Regions from separate parts of the Homo sapiens genome. Here regions 2, 3, 4, 5, 6 and 7 are each linked to region 1. Evidence: promoter capture Hi-C in 16 types of primary human blood cells and fetal thymus (Javierre and others, 2016). All regions are on one chromosome and are shown on one strand. The core of a region is centred on a gene start or on the middle of the fragment in contact, and the rest is flanking DNA. Distances in the headings are between cores, read along the strand shown. Region 1 holds the start of LONRF1 (LON peptidase N-terminal domain and ring finger 1). Region 2 overlaps PRAG1 (PEAK1 related, kinase-activating pseudokinase 1). Region 3 has its middle 69 kb from the start of FAM85B. Region 4 overlaps ZDHHC2 (zDHHC palmitoyltransferase 2). Region 5 overlaps PRAG1 (PEAK1 related, kinase-activating pseudokinase 1). Region 6 overlaps VPS37A (VPS37A subunit of ESCRT-I). Region 7 holds the start of PRAG1 (PEAK1 related, kinase-activating pseudokinase 1).

What was found. The method cuts DNA at HindIII sites, captures the fragments that hold promoters and counts their contacts. A CHiCAGO score of 5 or more calls a contact.
Region 2: a contact is called between a fragment that was not itself captured here and the fragment with the promoter of LONRF1 in region 1, in 1 of 17 cell types (naive CD8 T cells). The highest score is 13.4, in naive CD8 T cells.
Region 3: a fragment that was not itself captured here is called in contact with the fragment with the promoter of LONRF1 in region 1 in 1 of 17 cell types (M1 macrophages); the score reaches 7.0 in M1 macrophages.
Region 4: a contact is called between a fragment that was not itself captured here and the fragment with the promoter of LONRF1 in region 1, in 4 of 17 cell types (total CD8 T cells, non-activated CD4 T cells, naive CD8 T cells and 1 more). The highest score is 10.3, in total CD8 T cells.
Region 5: a contact is called between a fragment that was not itself captured here and the fragment with the promoter of LONRF1 in region 1, in 1 of 17 cell types (naive CD8 T cells). The highest score is 6.8, in naive CD8 T cells.
Region 6: a contact is called between a fragment that was not itself captured here and the fragment with the promoter of LONRF1 in region 1, in 1 of 17 cell types (neutrophils). The highest score is 7.6, in neutrophils.
Region 7: the fragment with the promoter of PRAG1 here is called in contact with the fragment with the promoter of LONRF1 in region 1 in 1 of 17 cell types (naive CD8 T cells); the score reaches 9.3 in naive CD8 T cells.

Annotation. Positions count from the first base shown.
Region 1 is chr8:12,754,136-12,756,839 of GRCh38, reverse strand. It overlaps LONRF1 (LON peptidase N-terminal domain and ring finger 1), which reads left to right and starts at 1,314. Exons shown (of 12, transcript NM_152271.5): 1 at 1,314-2,140. The coding sequence starts at 1,420. RefSeq lists silencers at 816-1,485, 1,566-1,905, 1,909-2,099, 1,996-2,535, 2,586-2,665 and 1 more and an enhancer at 1,021-1,840. The HindIII fragment of the contact is 11,195 bases long and covers 1-2,704 here.
Region 2 is chr8:8,340,552-8,343,251 of GRCh38, reverse strand. The region is part of intron 3 of PRAG1 (PEAK1 related, kinase-activating pseudokinase 1); the gene reads left to right. Among named protein-coding and RNA genes, the nearest start is that of PRAG1, 45 kb to the left of the region's middle. The HindIII fragment of the contact is 3,665 bases long and covers 1-2,700 here.
Region 3 is chr8:8,295,300-8,298,016 of GRCh38, reverse strand. No RefSeq gene overlaps it. Among named protein-coding and RNA genes, the nearest start is that of FAM85B, 69 kb to the right of the region's middle. RefSeq lists enhancers at 1,207-2,118, 1,251-2,450, 2,119-2,717. The HindIII fragment of the contact is 287 bases long and covers 1,264-1,550 here.
Region 4 is chr8:17,157,226-17,159,985 of GRCh38, reverse strand. The region is part of intron 1 of ZDHHC2 (zDHHC palmitoyltransferase 2); the gene reads right to left. Among named protein-coding and RNA genes, the nearest start is that of ZDHHC2, 2.1 kb to the right of the region's middle. RefSeq lists a silencer at 2,686-2,760. The HindIII fragment of the contact is 982 bases long and covers 924-1,905 here.
Region 5 is chr8:8,322,519-8,325,306 of GRCh38, reverse strand. All of the region lies in intron 5 of PRAG1 (PEAK1 related, kinase-activating pseudokinase 1), which reads left to right. Among named protein-coding and RNA genes, the nearest start is that of PRAG1, 63 kb to the left of the region's middle. The HindIII fragment of the contact is 6,195 bases long and covers 1-2,788 here.
Region 6 is chr8:17,257,032-17,259,731 of GRCh38, reverse strand. The region is part of intron 1 of VPS37A (VPS37A subunit of ESCRT-I); the gene reads right to left. Among named protein-coding and RNA genes, the nearest start is that of VPS37A, 11 kb to the right of the region's middle. The HindIII fragment of the contact is 5,442 bases long and covers 1-2,700 here.
Region 7 is chr8:8,385,169-8,387,868 of GRCh38, reverse strand. It overlaps PRAG1 (PEAK1 related, kinase-activating pseudokinase 1), which reads left to right and starts at 1,430. Exons shown (of 6, transcript NM_001080826.3): 1 at 1,430-1,548. RefSeq lists a silencer at 1,048-1,727. The HindIII fragment of the contact is 9,968 bases long and covers 1-2,700 here.

The sequences.
Region 1 (2,704 bases), core at 65-2,564:
CGTTACACGACTTGTTGATTGTGTAGTGAAAACACATGAACTCAAAACATTTTTTAGCCTTAATTGCCTGTTCCTTATAAAGAGAAATATTAAACGTTTACCAATTTCATACATAGCATGCTCAGGTGAACTTTCCAATTAGCAACTTCTTTTACTTTGAAAATCTCATATATTTCTATGAAATATTACATATTTTATTAAATATTACATATTAGTCTAACGTAGTAGTAGTGGAATAGACGTGATCTTAAAATCTGTATTAGCTGTGTGATTTTTGACAAATAACTTTCCCTGTGTTTCCAATCATTTGAAAAAGGACTAAAAGTCCTAAGTGACTTCCAACATTAGCGATCTAATACCCTATCATCAAATCTGTATTTTCAGCTGAGAGCTTTAAACTTGCTGCTGTGAAGTTTAAGGGAAATAGCACCCATTATATATCAACCCGATCATTTTCTTCTGTCAGCAAAACTGCAGAGCCAGCTTGGGTTGTAGTAATACGGTGACCGCCATGTGAAACATGTTTCTTGGTGTTTTCTTTTAAAACTGCCAAATATAGACCTTAACCAGCTGTAAGGCAGTGCTTGAGGTGTGGAGACACCTGAGGAAGCTGTGGGCTTTCTCCCTCGAGGTGGGCCCACGATGAGTTTTAAGCAAGACGGGCAAGCAGTCACCTGGCACCAGGAAAAACTCCTTGCCCTCTGGAGGGAGTCGCCCCAGGAACGTGGGTTTTTTGTTCATATTTAAAGTTGAGTCCTCTAGAACCGAAGAGTCCCAGTCATCTGCCGAAGGTGCGCTCCCAGGCCCCCTGCTTGGGCGCGCCCACCTGGAACATGGGCGTAGAGCTATGAAAATGCAGACCCGCACAAGCGCGAGGCCACGCGGGGAGACCCCCGCCCGCCAGGAGTTGGGGCAGGTCCGGCCTGGGCGGGGGCGTCGGGGGAGGGGTGGTGACCCGGAGTCCCGCGCGGCAGGGGAGCGTCCCCCAACCCCCGGCAGGGGCGAGGGCCACCGCAGGTGGCGGCGTTGGCAGACAGGCAAGCGGGGACTGAAGCTCCGGGGTCCTTCCGGCTTTGTTCCGTCACGAGCCGAGCCCTCCTTTCCGGAGAAGCCAATTAGATCTCCGACGGAGGAATCATCCGACCTGCGTCCCCCACCCGGAGGGGGCTCGGAAGGGGCGGGGCCCAGCGCTTGGCTCCTCGGGAGCGCGGCCGCGGGCGGCGTGGGGGAGTCCCGGGCGCCGTCGCCGAGCCCGGCCCCGCCCTCGCCAGGCCCCGCCCTCGGGGCTTCCCGGGCGCGCGCAGCCCCGCCGTGTCCGCGCGCCACGCCCCCCTGCTCGCGGGCCGCGTGCGGAGCCGCGCGCCCGGGAGGCTCCGGGACCGTGGCGGCGGGCGGCGGCGGCGCAGCCCTCCGCGGGCCATGTCCTCTCCGGCGGTGGCGAGGACCTCCCCAGGAGGGAGTCGGGAGATGGCCCCAGCGCCGCAGGGCCGAGGCCGGTTCTGGGAAGTGGGCGGCGGCAGCGGCCATCGGCTGGAGCGCGCGGCCGCGGAGTCGGAGCGCTGGGAGCTGCTGCTCCGCCGCGGGGAGCTGCTGGCGCTGGGCGGCCACCTGAAGGGCGCGCTGGAGGCGTTCGCGGCGGCGCTGCGCCGCGGGGCCCCGGCCAGGCCCGAGTGCCTGGGCGCCCTGGTGGACTGCCTGGTGTTCAACTACCGGCTCCGCCACGGGCTGGGCTGGAGCGCGGCCCCGGTTGCAGGCGCTGACGGCGGCGCCGGCGGGCTCCTCAGATGCCTGGGCTGCCGGGGCTTCCTGAGCGAGCCGGTGACCGTGCCCTGTGGCCACAGCTACTGCCGCCGCTGCCTGCGGAGGGAACTCCGCGCCCGCTGCCGCCTCTGCCGGGACCGGCTGCCGCCCGCCACCGCCAGTGCCACTGATGCTGAAGGGACCGCCCCGCGGCCGCCGCCTCTGGCCGCCGCCATCGCCGCTTCAGACTTCAGAACCAGCGTCGTCCTCAACCACCTGGCCGAGAAGTGGTTTCCGGGCCAGCGCGAGCGGGCCCGGGCGGCCGGCAGGCTCGGGGAGCTACTGCACCAGGGGCGCTACCGGGAGGCCCTGGCCGCCGCCTGCGAGGCGCTGCGAGCAGGTGACCGCGCGGGGATGCGGCGGGGCCGGGCCGACCGCACCCTCCTGGCCCCGAGGGCCGGGGACCCGGAGCTTGTCTGCGCCCCGAGAGTCTCCTCTGCTTCCCCGGGGCCGCTGGGCCGCTGGCGTGTCGGGTCTCGGGGTGCTGGGGGGTGTGGGAGGGGGCGGCGCCCCGGGGTGCTTCGGTCATAATGGGGATCGCCCTGGGAGCCGACTGTGACGCGGCGCGGGGAGGGGCGCTCGGCGCGGGGTTCCCTCGGCCGCGGCCTGGCTGTCGGGCGCGCGCTCCCGGCGCGGAGTGGGTGACCTGGACCGAGGCCGCCCCGGCGCGGGATGGGTGGTAGCTGGGCTATCCCGAGCGGCCGCTCGCTTCCTGCCGCGCGCTTTCCGGGAATTGGCTCTCGGGCCGGGCCCGCCGCGGGGAAACGACTGCCGGGGCGGGGAGAGAATCCCCCGCGAGGGCAACTAGGCCGGGCAGGCGGCGTCTCCCTTCCTCACCCACAAAAGTCACCGGGACAATTGGGAACCGCGGGAGGGCAGAATTGCATAAGCTGGGGGCGGGGGG
Region 2 (2,700 bases), core at 53-2,552, 4.4 Mb after region 1:
TTTCCCTATATCTTTAACAAAATCTGACGTTGTCAGTCTGATCTGATGGGTATGAAATGAAATCTTGTTTTATTTACAATCTGATCATTCATAATTTTAATAATCTTTTCATGTGTTGAGTGGCCTTTCTTGTTTCATTTGTGAGTTGCCTGTTCATTTCCATTTTAAAAATGGGGTCATTTGTCTGTTTCTTAGATTTATAGGCACTCTTTTTTATTCTGCCTACCAGTACTTTATTAGTAATGCGGGTTGCAAAGATGTGAGTTGGCCACTCCAAGGTTTGTTTTTTTTCACTTTTTAATGGTGACTTTTATGTTATGAGGCAGAAGTTTTAAATTTTAAAGTAGTCAGATTTATCTTTTTCTTTATATTGCTATTTTTTAGCCCTTATTTTAAAAATTATTTCCTACCCCAAGTTCATAAAGTTTTCTCGTTATTTTTTCTGATGAATTTAAAATTTAATGGGTGTTTCTTTTCTGTTGAAAATTCGTGTTTCTACACGGTATGAGATATGGCTCTACTTTCTTTTTTTCTTCACATCATAAATAGCTGGTGTAAGTACCATGAATTGACTTGTTAATCCTCCAGTCTGTTTCTTGGGTCTGTGTCCTGGAAATGTTGGTCCTAGATTTATCAGAACCAGATCTTTACTGATCTCATTTATACAGCAACTGGTCCTTGATGGTTTTACAGGGTAGTTTTCGCAATCTTTCAGAGAACACATAATGTTTCTCTTATAAAAATTACCTGAGATAAGGCCGGGCGCGGTGGCTCACTCCTGTAATCCCAGTACTTTGGGAGGCCGAGGCGGGCAGATCACGAGGTCAGGGGGTCGAGACCATCCTGGCTAACACGGTGAAACCCCGTCTCTACTAAAAATACAAAAAAATTAGCGGGGCGTGGTGGTGGGCGCCTCCTGTAGTCCCAGCTACTCGGGAGGCTGAGGCAGGAGAATGGCGTGAACCCGGGAGGCGTAGCTTGCATGAGCCAAGATGGTGCCACTGCACTCCAGCCTGGGCAACAGAGCAAGACTCCATCTCAAAAAAAAAAAAAAAATTACATGAGATAATTGAAAAAGTGAAAGTTACTCAATTCATTTTATAATTCCTTTTCTTTTTTTTGAGACACAGTTTCACTCTGTCACCCAGGCTGGAGTGCAATGGCACCATCTCGGCTCACTGCAACCTCCGCCTCCTTGGTTCAAGCGATTCTACTGCCTCAGTCTCCCAAGTAGCTGGGATTACAGGCGCAGGCCACTATGCCTGGCTAATTTTTGTATGATTAGTAGAGATGGGGTTGGCCTGTTGGCCAGGCCGGTCTCGAACTCCCTACCTCAAGTGATCTGCCCGCCTTGACCTCCCAAAGTGCTGGGATTACAGGAGGGAGCCACCGTATCCGGCCGTCATTTTATAATTCTATTTTAACCTTTATATCCAAATTGGACAAGGACAGGACAAGAAAGAAAAATTATGGGCTAGCCTCTATTTGAATGTAAATGTAAAAATCTTAAACTAAATATGAGTAAAACTGAATCCAGCAATGTGTAGTAAAATAAGTTCATACAACATGTGCAAGGATGGCTTAATTAAGAAAAGCTATTAACATAACTCATCACATTCACAGAGTAAAGGAGAAACATGATATGATTTTTTTCCCATAGATGTAGAAAAGGCATTTAATAAACCCTAATAGCCAAAAATGATTTTGAAATACAAAACCTTAGAAAACTTGAAATAGAAATAAACATCCTTAGCCTGATAAAGTGCGTCTACTGAAATCTGTAGTAAATATACGCTTAGTATTGAAGGATCCCTTGTACTGCCTGTGTGTGGAGTTCCCTCTTTGTATCTGGCACCTGAGAATTGTTCTTTCTTTTAATCTTGGCTGTTACTTTAAGTAAGTATGTGTGTGTGTGTGCATATGTATATGAATATATATATATGCTCATACATACACATGTTTATGTATTTTTTGGTTTTGTCTATTTACATACATTTCATGAAGTTTGTGGAGTGGGAAGCTGTGCCAGCTCTGTAGCCATGGTGCTGTAGTTTCTCCCTTAGTGATTTTCTGGGCCTGAAGACCAAGAAACTCTAGAAACCACTTTGGAAGGGGCAAAGTAGGGGATAGCCACAGAGCTGGCTCTGGCTTCTCTCCTAGACTGAGGAGTTGTTATGCATGACTTCATATCCTGGCTTCCCTTGGAGAAAACTATTAGTGATAGATCTGATGTGGATATAAGAATATTGTATGAAACTGTCTGATTTTATTTTGCCAGGAGATTAGGCAAGGATCAGCTACTGCCATAGCATTTCCTAAGGAATTGATATTTCCAAGGTTCCCACAGCGATACTGAGATACAAAGATGAAGATTAGTCATAATGTTGCCTTCACTGTCACATTTTTTTTTTTGACAGATTTAACACAGTTTAAAAGTACGATTCTAAGGGTTGGGAGTGGGGAGAGGGACGTGTTTTCAAGGAGCACTTTTTGTGGTAGCGAACAAACTTTAAACCCTCCTGTTGATACACAGGGGATTCCCGTGACTATGAAAATTAAAACAGGGCCTGGCAATGTTGAACACAAAGAACAGCCAATAAATTCTTGACCGTAAGGTCATGCGCATTAAATAAGGCAGTTCTGATGCCAAATCAGTACTGTACTGTATATTTCCCATAGCAGATATTGAGATATGGATCT
Region 3 (2,717 bases), core at 158-2,657, 4.5 Mb after region 1:
CTTCAATAACCACTATCAGCAATCAAGATTACTGAAGAGTCTCTGTCATGTTCTTCTTACCACCATCCTTCTGAAATATATATCGGGTTATCTCAGTCTATTTAGTATTGCTCTGAAGGGAGGCCTGAGACTGGGTAATTTAGATAGAGAAACATGTTTATTTGGCTTACAATGCTGGTGTCTGAAAAAGTCCAAGTTTGGGCATCTGCATCGGTGAGGGTCTCAGGTTGCTTCCACTCTTGGTGGAAGTTGGAGGGGAGCCAGCGGGTGCAGAAATCACATGGAGAGGGAAGAAAAGAGAGAGAGGAAGCGCCAGGCTCTTTTAAACAACCAGTTCTTGCAGGAACTAATAGAGAACTCACTCACAACCCCCTACAGGGAGGTTATGAATCTGTTCATGAGGGATCTGCCCCAGGACTCAGCACCTCCCGTTAGACCCCACGTCCAACATTGGAGATCAAATTTCAACTTGAGGCTTGGACAAACATCCAGACTATATCAAGTCTTTGTATTTAGCTAACACTTTGCTTCCAGAGGCTAAGCCTTTCTCAAGATCGCCAAACAGCTTACTTTAGGAGAGGTTTTCTTGAATTTTAGCATGAGTTTTCCCCTGAGAATGAACCCTCTGCTGTAGCTAGCGGTCCTTTCTTCTTTCCTCTTCTCACATTATCTTTCTCTCTCGCCCTCTTTGGCCTTCTCTTGATTTCCAGCTGCTCTTTGTCTCAACCCATTATTCCATGAGTGGGGAGACATTTCCGCTTATTAAAATCCCTCCCCCAGAGTTCCCCTAATCCAGAGGAATTATCCAGCTGAGCCAGCCGCCCTGTCTGGGTGCTCAGCCCTCAAAGGGGTCTGTGCATTTTCTGAGCCTGCTCACCTTCCTAAGTAAAGCTATGAACTGGAAATCCTAACCCCAACAGCTAAAGTCTGGAGAGGAATTTATTTCCCACAGTTGGTCTTTCCTGGCCATTTATCAGGTCATTCCAAGTCTTGCTTTAGCAAACTGAACCCTCGTGATTTTTTTTTTACTAAGATGCCACCACCACGTCAATGTTTATATTTCCTCTGTGTCCTTCTGGGAGGTGGCAGGAGATAGCATTAGCTCCATTTCAAATCAGAAAGAAACTGGAGGACATCAAAGTCCCCACATCATGTGGTTTATACAACTCAGAGGCTAAGGAAAGACCTAAATTTTAAGTGTTCTATTCAAAGCATCATCTTAAATCAGTAGGCTTCACTGTGTTATTTGAACCAATCTAAGCTTTTCCATTGCCCATAAGAGGGCTCTTTCCTCATATCTGTACTGGGATTTTCAGCATAGACCCATAAACATGGAGAAGGTCCCCACCACCACCTTTTGCTTTCCTGGTGTTCTTCCAAGCCTGGCTGAAGGCAGAGGCTCCTTTGGCGGCCCGTTTTCAGCACACAGGGGCCTGGGAATAAGAAAATGTCCTGTTGCTCTACAGAGGACGCAAACAGTGGATCAGGATCCCCATAGCCTTGCTCCGGTGACTCACCCTTCCTGGTCTGTGGGCGCCTCTGAGTAAGCTTTGTCTTGCTGCTCTGCAGAAGTCTCTGAGAAGGTATGACTTGCTGAGTTCCTAGGAAAACTGCCTACCCTTAGAAAGTGGATGTGAGAAGGAAAGCAGCAAGCCGGGAGCAGTCACGCACTGGTGTCCCCAGTGCCCCTGCGGCCCAGGGCGGAGGTGACTGCTGAAGTCAGCCTCCTGGAATGCCTCCAGGTAACCCTCCCTCCCTATCAAGGTCAATGAGTCAGAGGATAGGAGAGAAGCCGTGAGTAAAACTGCACACCAGGTGAAAGAAAGGGAGGAAAGCCGCATGGACCCTCCACTCCCAGCAGAGAACAGGGGGTGAGTCACTCAGCTCCGCTCCAGGGCACAGGGCAGGACTCTCGGCTCAAGGCTTCATCCAGCGAGTCCAGCATATTCTCCTCTTCAAACAAATGGAAACTTTCTGCTGCTCCATGATGGGATCACTCTTTCTGGGCTCCTTGGGAGCAAGTGAGAGGAAGCCCTTACCTGCACCAGCAGCCTCCATAAGGAAGGGAGCATCCGATCAGAGGTGAACAACGGGAGGCAGTGTCTCGCCCCGGCACATGGGGTCAATCTACAAATATTGATTCAGAGACATGAAAAATGGGAGTTTTGCACGGGAAGCACTTTCCAGAGATCTCACTCTCCAGTCTTTGCAGAGTCACATTTTCTCAACAGAATGGGTTAGAACTAAAAAAAAAAGGTGCTTGCTCAGAAATGGCACTGATGGCTCAGCACTTCCATTTATTTTATTTTATTCCATTTTGTTTTCTTTGATCTCACCTTTCCTTTGAGGTACGTCCAAAGAGAAGACTGGCAGCTGAGAGAAGATGATGGTGACCCTGATGGTGGAATATGGTTTGTGACCCAAAAACCAGTAGTTTCCACACAGGTGGCACAGCCCTTCCTAAGTGGGCTCCAGGGCCATGGACCTGAGGCCACAGGCCAAGGTGAGGCTGTGGGGGTCCCACACTGCAGCTGAACAGTGAGGCTGCCTGGAGCCCTGGCATGGTGCCCAGGGTTCTAAAGCCACTGCTGTGAACAGGGTAGATCATCCAGGAGAGCGCCCAGAGGTGGGGAAACAGGCCTGCAGCAGGCGGGGACATCAGCTGGCCTTGCTGTCCTTTGATTCTCACAGTTACTGCTTTTTGTTCAAATGTTACC
Region 4 (2,760 bases), core at 165-2,664, 4.4 Mb before region 1:
TTTATCTTACTTGACGGAAACCAACCTAATATCTAAAGAGAGCAAAGAGAGTTAAAACACAAAAGAAGCCAGGAGTGGAGAGAGGGACAGGAGGGACAGGGGAGAGGGAAAAGGAGTGGTAAGAGAAGGAAAGGATGGAGGGGGAGGAATACAAATAGAAGAGCCTCGTTAATCAACAAACGAGATAAACGTGGTCCAAATGATTAGAAGTATAACTGTCTTTTGTGATCTTTTCTTTGGCAGAATAGGAAGCTGACTTAACCAAAAATACTTGACTCTCACACAATATATGTACATCCCATATATTTTACATATACACATATTCCAAAAAGAGAGGTTATTTTTATAAAATACAAACACTAAGCAAAAATTATGCTAACTGAAAAAGTGCCTAGAGAGCCACATACATCCACGTTGTTAAATATAGAAACTAACTGTAATGAGAATCATTATCTCCAGTTTCCAAGGATACCAGGATAAGCACTACTCCTAAATTGCAGTTCATTCAGCAAAGGGCACAGAATAATTTATATTCAGGGTCATCCCTAGCTGAGAGCAGATGTGGAAGGAGGACCAGGGTAAATCACCTTGTTTCTTCTATTCCATTTGCTACCTGATCCAGTTCCCAGCCCTCGACCCCCACACTCTGGTCCCAACCTTGGCCAATGTTTTATGGAAGAAATTTGGAAAATCTGCTTGTAAATGGCAACTTCCAAGAGAAAAAGAATCTTCAAAGGGCAGGGCAGTCTGAGATGTGATTAATACTGGGGGTAGGGTGGGGGCTGGTATTTCCATTTGCTTTGTCTGTGAAAAGGAAAGGAGTCTGGGAGTCTGGTTTTGTGTGTCAGTCACACTAGTCGCCATCTTTCCCAGTGCCTATAAGGAAATTTCAACTTCCCACTCGACCAAGGCTATGCAAAGCTTGCCACTCATAAACTGCCATGGTCTCTAGAATCAAATTCAGCTTCAACTTGTTCTTCCTTCTTAGACTCTAGAATCTAGATCTTTCATAACAATTACTTTTTGTTTCTACAGCAATAAAAATATAAAAGCTACTTTCTGAAAACCTAGGAGATAGTGCCTCTGAATCATTTATTTGTTTATTCAAGACCACTTACTGTTGTTTTCAATGTGGCAGGCATTGCGCCAGGCCAGGCAGACAGGCATTACGCCAGGCAGACAGGCATTGCGCCAGGCAGGCAGGGACAAGAAGTGATAGATAAGGTATCAATAACAGGCCACGCCACTTAGGCAGTTTAAAAAGAGGCATTCTTCCTCTTAGTCAAATCGTCACTTACTAAAATACTGATGCGGATTTTATGGATACTCTAGATTTGTCTTAAACTTACAGAAAGTACATATAAACATACGATTCAGATATAATACCAATTTTCCATTTAGTTCCTTCCCCATCACCTGTCTACCCAATACAATAATAAGATCTGCCATATAGCACCTCAGCTAGGAGCAGACATCCTTCTAACGGGCAGAAGAGCTCTCTCTGCCTTCAAATGCTTCCTCTTAATGGACAGGAGACACTGTACCAAGATAAGCGTCTTAGCTTAATGTGATAATACAGGAGAATAGGCTATTTTGATAATGAAGGCCTTCTAGGATGTCCCTTCTTTGCAGGTTATATTAATCGATACTGGTCACTGTTTTTAAGAGGACGAAGGAATGAAACACAACAAAGGTTCCCAACAGTTACGTAACATATACAGTCTATCTCAATAAGGCAAGCTATTTTAAGATTAACAGTTAATACAAAATTTACTACACGTCCTTTCCTATATATTTTAGATGACTTGACGACTGCATACCTAAATGCATCCTCATGATAATGCCTGTACAGCCTCATCTTTTCCCAACAACAGACTCAAGGTTTTTTTTTTGGACTATTAAGCTTGTTTCTAAATCCCTTCAAGTAATAACAGCAAATTTTAAAACTATATGAAATAAAAGTCTCGGTTCTCTTACAACTTACATCAGTGATTATTTTGATGTATTATTATGACACTTTCTCACAAGGCGCAACATTTTGAGGTAAGATGGCTTCAGACAAGATTTTATGTCTGAATCTTGAGGCTTTGAAAATGCTGAGCTTGTGAAGGCTCAATATAATAGGCCACTATTTCATCTTTTCCCTCGTCCCACCCAAAGCTAGCACTTGGTAGGGCAAAAACAGACACTTTGTTAGGTGGAGCACCAAACACAGAAAGCATTCACAAGTCACTGGCAGAAAGGTCATTTTCTGTTTTAACATCTTTTTCTGATAACCCAGATCAGTTTTCATAAAACCCCTGAAGGTAGAAACCAGCTTACATTAAGCGACATCATTGTACTCCCTACTTGTGCATAATAATCAACTTTTTAAAAAATTTTAATCTTCAGCATTAAAAGTATCCTACCCACCAATTCAGGAACCTCGAACTCGGACTGGAGCCACTTCGCTCTCTGGATGTAAAAACCTCAGACGATCACCTCTTTTTTTCTCTCCCTACTGTTCAAACACCTAAATTATGGTTTAGTGTGTTGCACATGTCCTCAAAAATACTTTCTAGTAGCTCACCTCCTCCACATCCTTTTAAACTAGAAAAGTGTCCAACTGGCAATCCTCAAATCATAAAGGCAGCAAAAACGCCCCTGAGCGCTGTCACAAATTTTTAACAAGTGCATTGACGCCAACCAGCAAGGGATCCAGCTCCGCCGCCAAGGCCAGCACCCCCGCGCGGGTCTGGCGCAGCTCGGGGCCGGGCCCAG
Region 5 (2,788 bases), core at 109-2,608, 4.4 Mb after region 1:
ATGGTAATTCTTGGAACAACGTTACCAGGAACAATATTAATTTGCAAATGTGCCTGGCCTGGTCATTGGGGGGGCGGGCCGTGGGGGCCCTGGAGCATCATTTCGCACGGGCAGCTGTTCCACTTCATTAGCTCTCCAGTCTAGACGAAATACAGTCATCTGGGGATCCGCAGGAGGGGGAGTGGGTCTCCCTTCCCAGCCAGCGAGCTGCCTGTCTGAGGCTGAGCGCATTTTATCTGCACATGTTAAACAGGGAGCCGGCACTGAAGGCAGACGGAGCCTCGTTTGCGGTCGCGGAGTCCTAGTTAACAATAGCAGGCTCACACCTGCTCCTTGCTGATGCTGGAACCTACTACTTTGGGCTCAGCGCCCTGCAGCAGTGAGGAGATAAAGCTGGTTCTTGTAGCTCCACCGCATGAATAGGTGACAGGAAAAAAAAAATCATTAGTTGTGTGTGCGTCTTCGAAGCAGTTTCATTTCTCAGCCATCTAGACAGAATTCTAGTTTGGTAATTAGGGCCCCGTTTTAAGCTGCTGGGCCTTTTTTATTTAACAGACATGATTTAGCCCAGACTTTCGCCCGTGAATGAGGCCCTGACTCCAAAGTTTAAATGAGTCCTGGCTCAGCAAAACGTTAGAAACTTGAGCTGAACCAAGAGTCTATGTAAAGTTCTAGAGCTAAAAATCCGAGTGCAGGGCCCCCTGAAAATGAAATGAGGTTGGTTGGGGGCAGGGAGTAGGGAGATGGAGATGGAGAAAAAGCCACTCCCTCCCCCACCGCCCCTTCCCCCACCCAGTGCTGTGGAATGATCTCCGGCGCGGGCCTACAGCTCACTCACAGGGCTAGTTAGCATGCGCCCAACGCAGCCTTCTCCGTTGCTGGCCTTTGAGGAAGCTGCGGGTCTTGCCAAAGGCCCAGTGCACTGATTTTGAAATGCATCCAGCCCAGTTGCCATTTACTCTGCTCCTTCATTTACATCTCTGTGCAAAATGTCAGCAGCCTGACTGGAGCTCCAGGCCTCAAGTGTTTGCTGGGCCCAGGCTTTTCATACCCCTGAGAAAAAGGAGCCTTGGAAACTCTTCCCAGGCCCCTGGGCAGCTGTGCTCTTCGGGTTTGCACAATACCTGCAGGCCAGCTCTGGATGCCTCCGCATCACCAGAGGGCTACAGCCGAGATGGCAAGAGCAGTCACCATAGCAACCTTCCCCATTGTGCTTGCCCTGGGCTGGGCCTGGCGCTGAGAGCCATGCCTGCATCATTTCATCTGATCCTCACAATGGCCCTACGAGGAAGGACTATCCCTGCCCCTGTCATTCAGAGGAGAAAACATGCTTTGAGATAAATACCGTCCATCTTCATTATTTATGGATTCTGTATTTGCAAAATCATCTACCCGCTCAAATTTATGTGTAATTCCAAAATCAATACTCGAAGCGCTTTCCAGTGATTTCTGGATACGTGTAAGGGAAGGAAAAATTTGAGTCACCTGATGTTTAGTTCTCACGATGCTAATAAAGACATACCTGAGACTGGGTAATTTACAAGGGAAAGAGATTTAATTGACTCACAGTTCAGCATGGCTGGGGAAGCCTCAGGAAACTTACAATCATGGTGAAAGGGGAAGCAAACACGTCCTTCTTCACATGGTGGCAGCAAGGAGAAGCCAAGCAAAAGGGGCAAAAGCAGCCAGGTGCAGTGGCTCATGCCTGTAATTCCAGCACTTTGGGAGGCCAAGGCAGGTAGATCACGAGGTCAGGAGTTCAAGACCAGCCTGGCCAACATGGTGAAACTTCATCTCTACTAAAAAATGAACAATACAAAAATTAGTCAGGTGTGGTGGTAGGCACCTGTAATCCCAGCCACTTGGGAGGCTGAGGCAGGAGAATCACTTGAAGCCAGGAGGTGGAGATTGCAGTGAGCCAAGATGCGCCACTGCACTCCAGCCTGGGCAACAGAGCAAGACTCTATCTCAAAAAAAAAAAAAAAGGGAGGGAAAAGAAAACCCCTTATAAAGCCATCAGATCTCATGAGAACTCACTCACTATCATGAGAACATCACCAGGTTCCTCCCACCACACGTGGGGATTATGAGAACTACAAGATGAGATTCGTTTGGGGACACAGCCAAACCATATCACCCAATGTGCATGTTTCCAGCTGAAGGGGAATGAGGCGACAGTCTCCCATCTTGTTTCAGCCCTCATCCTGGAAGCCAGGGTCATTTTTTGCAGTCTATTTAGTGTCTTGTTTTTCACATTTGTGTGCTTTTTGTTTGTTAATGAAAAGAGTCCAACTCTGTAAAATATTAGATTTATTCTGAGCCAAATATAAGTCACCTATGGCCCATGACACAGCCCTCAGGAGATCCTGAGACCATGTTCCCAAAGTGGTCAGGCCACAACTTGGTTTTGTACATTTTAGGGAGACACAGTTATCAATCAATACATGTATGATGTACATTGAAGTTGAGGGGGCCGGGGGAGCTTCCAAGTCGTCGGTGGATTCAAAGATTTTCTGATTGGCACTTGGTTGAGAGAGTTATTATCAATAGAAAGGAATGTCTGGATTATGAGAAGGGGTTATGGAGACCAAGACTTTATCATGCAGACGAAGCCTCCAGGTAGCAGGCTTGAGTGAGAACACATTGTAAATATTTTTATCAGACTTGAAGAGACTGCCCTATCAGTAATCCCAACAGGGAGGAGGGTAGCATGAGGCATGTCCAGCGCCCCCTTCCCATCATGGCCTGAACTCATTTTTTTATGTTCACTTTGGAATGCCCTTGACTG
Region 6 (2,700 bases), core at 188-2,687, 4.5 Mb before region 1:
GCAAACATTAATGAACCTAAAGAGAAAGACAGATTGCAATACGTTAACTATAGGGGACTTTCACTCTACTATCAGTAATGCAAAGATCATCCAGACAGAAAATCAATAAAGAAACACCAAAGTTAAACTTCACTTTGGACCTAATAGGCCTAATTGACATTTACAGAACACTGCACTCAATTGCTGCAGAATATGTTCTTTTCATCAGCACATGGAACATTCTCCAGAACAGAACATATCTTAGGCCAGAAAACAAGTCTGAACAAACTCAAAGAAATCAGAAATTACATCAAGTATGTTTTCTGACCACAATGCAATAAAACTAGAAAACAATAACAAGAGGAACTTCAGAAACTACACAACCACGTGGAAATTAAACATGCTACTGAACAGCCAATGGGGTGACAAAGAAATTAAAAAGTAAATTTTAAAAAGTCTTCAAACAGATGAAAATGGAAATAGAACACACCAAAATCTATGGGATAAAGCAAAAGTGATACAAAGAAGAAAGTTTATAGCAATAAATGACTGTATCAAAAAAGTAAAAAGACTTCAAATAAACAACCCAATTATGCACTTTGATGAACTAGAGAAGAACCAAACCTAAAAGGAGAAAAAATATAAATATCAGAGCAGAAATCAATGAAGTTGAGACCAAAAATACAAAAGATCAAGAAAATGAAAAGTTGGTTATTTGAAAAGATAAAATCATCAAGCCTTTAGCTAGATGAACTAGGAGAGAAGACCCAAATAAATGAAGTCACAATGAAAAAGAAGATGTGACAACTGAGACCACAGAACTATAAAGAATCATTAGGCACCACTATGAATTATATGCTAAAAAACTGGAAAGCCTAAAAGAAAGGAACAAATTGCCGGACATATACAACCTACTAAGATTAAACCATGATAAAATAGAAAACTTCAATAAGCCAATAATAATGAGATTAAAGCCATAATAAAAAGTCTCACATCAAAGAAAAGCTGAGGACCTGATAGCTTCGCTGGTGAATTCTACCAAACACTTAAAGAACTAATAACAATTCTACTCATGCTTCAAAAAAATTGAAGAAGGACTACTTCCAAACTCATTCTACAAGATCAGCATCACCCATAGAAACAAGAAAAAAGAAAACTACAGGCCAATATTACAGATTAACATACATACAAAACTCCTGAACAAAATACTAGCAAACCAAATTCGACAAAACATTAAAAAAGATCATTCACCATTATCAGGTGGTATTACCCCAGGAATGCAAGGACAGTGCAATATATATGCAAATCAATAAATGTGATATATCCATTAAGAGAACCAAGAACAAAAAACAAATGATTGTTTCAACAGATGCTGAAAAAGCACTCAATAAAATCCTTTGTGATTACAACCCTCATCGAACTGGGTATAGAAGGAATATACATCAAAATAATAAAGGCCATATATAACAAACCACAGTTGACATTATAGTGAATGTGGAAAAACTGAAGGCCTTTCCTCTAAGATCTAGAATAAGACAAGCATGCCCACTTTCAAACTTTTATCCAATATAATAGTGGAAGTCTTGGCCAGAGCAATTAGGCAAGAGATAGAAATAAACAGCATCTAAAATGGAAAAGAGAAGTTAAATTAGCCTTGTTCGCGGATGACACAATGTTACGACTGGAAAAACCTAAAGACCCCACCAAAAAAACAGACAAACAAAAAACCTGTTAGAAATGATAAACCAATTCAGTAAAGTTGCAGGATACAAAATTAACATACAAAAATTAGTGGCATTTACATATGCTAACAATAAACAATCTAAAGAAAAAAGTAATCCTAGTTACAATAGTTACAAAGAATATAAAATACCTAGCAAACAATTTTACCTAAGAAGTGAAACATCTAAACAAGGAAAACTATAGAACACTGATGAAAGAAATTGAAGAGGACATGTACAAAAAAAATGGAAACATATTCCATGCTTGTGGCTGGAGGAATAAATACTATTAAAATGACAATACTACCCAAAGCAAATTACAGATTTGGAGCAATCCCTAGCAAAATACCAATGACATTCTTCACAGAAATAGAAACAATCACAATTTTTTTACAAATTATACTTTAGGTTCTGGAGTACATGTGCAGAATGTGCAGTTTTGTTACATAGGTATACACGTGCCATGGTGGTTTGCTGCACCCATCAACCCGTCACCTACATTAGGTATTTCTCCTAATGCTATCCCTCCCCTAACGCCCCCTGACAGGCCCCGGTGTGTGATGTTCCCCTCCCTGTATCCATGTGTTTTCACTGTTCATAATCCTAATATTTATATGGACTCACAAGACCCTGAATAGCTGAAGCAACTCTGAGCAAAAAGAACAAGGTTGGAGGCATCACACTATCTATCCAGCTTCAAAATTTACTGCAAAGTTATAGTAACCAAATCACATGCTACTGGCCTAAAAACAAACACACAGACCAATGGAGCAAAACAAGGAACCCAAATATAATTTACAGCCAACTCATCTTAACAAAAGCACCAAGAACATACAACGGAGAAAGGATGATGTTTTCAATAAACGGTGCTGGGAAAATTGGGTAACTATATGCTGAAGAATGAAACTAGACCCTATCTCTTACCATACACAAAAATCAAATAAGAATGGATTAATGACTTAAATCTAAGACCTGAAACTATGGAACTACTAGAAGAAAA
Region 7 (2,700 bases), core at 181-2,680, 4.4 Mb after region 1:
CGAGCCTCAGTTTTCTTATCTGTAGAATGGGGATAATGATGCTCTCCTCATAGGATTGCTTAGCGCTGGGTAGGTCCTTAAGGAATGTCCATTGCACTCCCATCCCTCTACAGCTTCCCCCAGATTCTGTCCTCTTAGGAGGCATGGGTGTCACTGGAACATGAGGAAGAATTCCCTGGATCCTTTTTTCCCTTTCCTCACACAGAAGCCAAACCTCAAATACACATCTTCCCTCTCTGTCCACACCCACAGCAGCAAAGAGGAGAGCCAGGGATCTGGGGGTGGGGGTGGGGGCCCATCTTCCTCCTCTCAGTGGGTGGGGGCTCGCAGGCTGACTGGCAGAGGACCTTCACTGGAGTCAAAATAAACTGCCTTCCTGGGGAGGGGATAGAGGGCGAGAGAAGCCGCAGGTATTGTTTTGTGGGGGAGGGGGGTCCTCTTCCTATTCCATTTCACTGAATTCTTCCCACCCGGCATGGCCCTGGGAGGTGACCATAGCCCTGGCTCCCCGAGTAAACACCCAGGTCAAGCTACAGGACTGACTGGGTCTTAAGCTATTATACTCCCAGTGAAAAGATTTTTTTAGCCCGAGGACTATCTCGAACTCGTTCTATCTCAGTGAATGACTCACTGGAAACGGTGTAAACACAGGTGTATTACTGGCCTGCGGAAGACTTGGATGTCCCAGCATGGTAGAAGGCCAGGTCCCTGCAGTGCAACGCTTGCATTCTACATCCAGAAAACTAAAGTTCAAAGAGGTTAAGCAATTTGCCAGAATCCTGCAGTCCAGGGACTGAGCGGAACCTGGAATCCGCCACCGGGACTTCCAGCCCTGCTCCCTCCGGCGCCACCCTCTTCCCAGAGGTAGGGAGAGCTGAGGCTCGCTGTGCTCACGTGGCTTTCAGAGCCCGCCTCGGACCCTGACCTGTATTCCACTCCCGACCCCACACTTCCTCGTTTCCCCTTCCTTCTCCCTCTCTTCCCAGGGTCCCGCAGGGCCGGCTGGATGAAGTGATGCCGGGCACCTATACACGCATGATGGCAAAAGGAGGATTGCAACGCCAGAGCTCGCCCCTCCAGAGCTGTGCAGGGTCCCCACCGAGGAGGGGGTGCAAACGGGTGCTGGGCTCGGGGGTCAGCCCGCGCCAAGTCTGGGGCTGGGGGCGGAGCCTGCCGGTCCGGGGCGGGAGGGTGGGCAAGAGAGGGAGTCCCGGGGCCTGGAGACTTTGGAGGAGTCGGGGCCCTGGGGGTAGGAGACCGCCGGGTGGGAGCGGCAGGCGCAAGCCGGGCGGCGGGGCGCGCGGGCCAGGCGGGGCCGGGCGGCGGCAGGGACTGCGGAGGTGCGGCGTGAGCTGGGGCGGGCGGCGTCACCGGAGGCGGAGGGGGCGGAGCCGCGCTCACAGCTGCCACCCGGCCGCCGGGCCCAGGCAGAAGCCACCCGCCCGCGGCCGGGCACGCACCGCGCGCAGACCTTCTGCGAACAATGCTCCGGCCGGGCGGCTGGCGGCTCGGAGACCGACGGAGGGGCCGGGGGAGCGCAGCCCAGAGGTGAGCCCGCGACGCGCTCTCCAAATTCGGCCTCTTTTTGTCTGGCGAGCGTGGTCGCAGAGGGGAGCTTTGGAGGGGCGCTGCGATCGCCGAGCGGGCTACCCCCGGGGTGACAGGCGACCGCTCGGGAAGTGGGCAGTGCCGGGGCCGCGTGAGCCCCGGGTGGTGCCCGAGGTGCAGGGAGGCGCCCGGCCGGGAGGACCGAGGAGCTGGAGGGTGTTTTTGATTCATTCGAGAATCGCGCTCTTTAAAACGGGGAAACTTTCCTACGAGTTCCAGGAGGGAGGACCGACTGTTAGGATGGTTTCTCTGGTCTTGCTGCTCTGTCTGCGGCCGGAGGCTGAAGCGCTTTGAGGACTGCTTTCCACCGCTAGAGTATTGTCAAGGGGGAGAGACGGAAGGCCGCCTGGCTGCTGGGACCAGGACCCGGGGGGATGGTTTGGGGGTGCAGGGTATGCAGCAGCGGGGCTCCAGAGGCAACGAGATGATGCCCTTTTCCCCGAGCCCTGGCTGAGCCCTCTGAAACGCATGCTGTGAGCACGTTATTAACCTTTGCTGGTATCCGGGGACACACACACTTAGAACATAGAATCCTCTGCTGGGCATGGAGGCGGCCGGGCATTCGCAGCGGAGAGCGCCAGCTCACGGTGTGTGCGTTTCTCTCAGGTAAGCTCTCCCTGCACATGGTTTTGCAGAGCCGATAGCAAAGCCCAATGGTCTAGGGGCGAGGAGTTTTGGCGATGCATTCAGTGCGGAGTCAGGCTCAGAAGGCTTTCCTGATCACTGGCCTGAACTATTCTTAACAACTCCTCTCCCCTTCCCTTTCTGAGAAGAAAATTTGACAGAAAGCCCTAGGGAATTCCGCAGTTATTTTTCTCTCCTGAGGTCTGGTTGGTTTCGACTGTAGTGGGTGCAAAACCACATTCCTCCCTCTGAGATTTTCTTTCCTCCAGCACTGGAGGAAGAAAAAAGAAAAGGAAAAGTTGGGTGAATATCGTAATTTACCCTCTGCGTGAGTAGGGAGGCAGGGGGCTAGTGGGTGGTAAAGTTGTCACTTTCTCCTTTCTGCCTGGTCAGCCCTGGCCAGTGGAGTGTGCTGAAGTTCAGACACTTTCCACACATATTTCTTTCCTTTTACTGGCGTTGCATTAA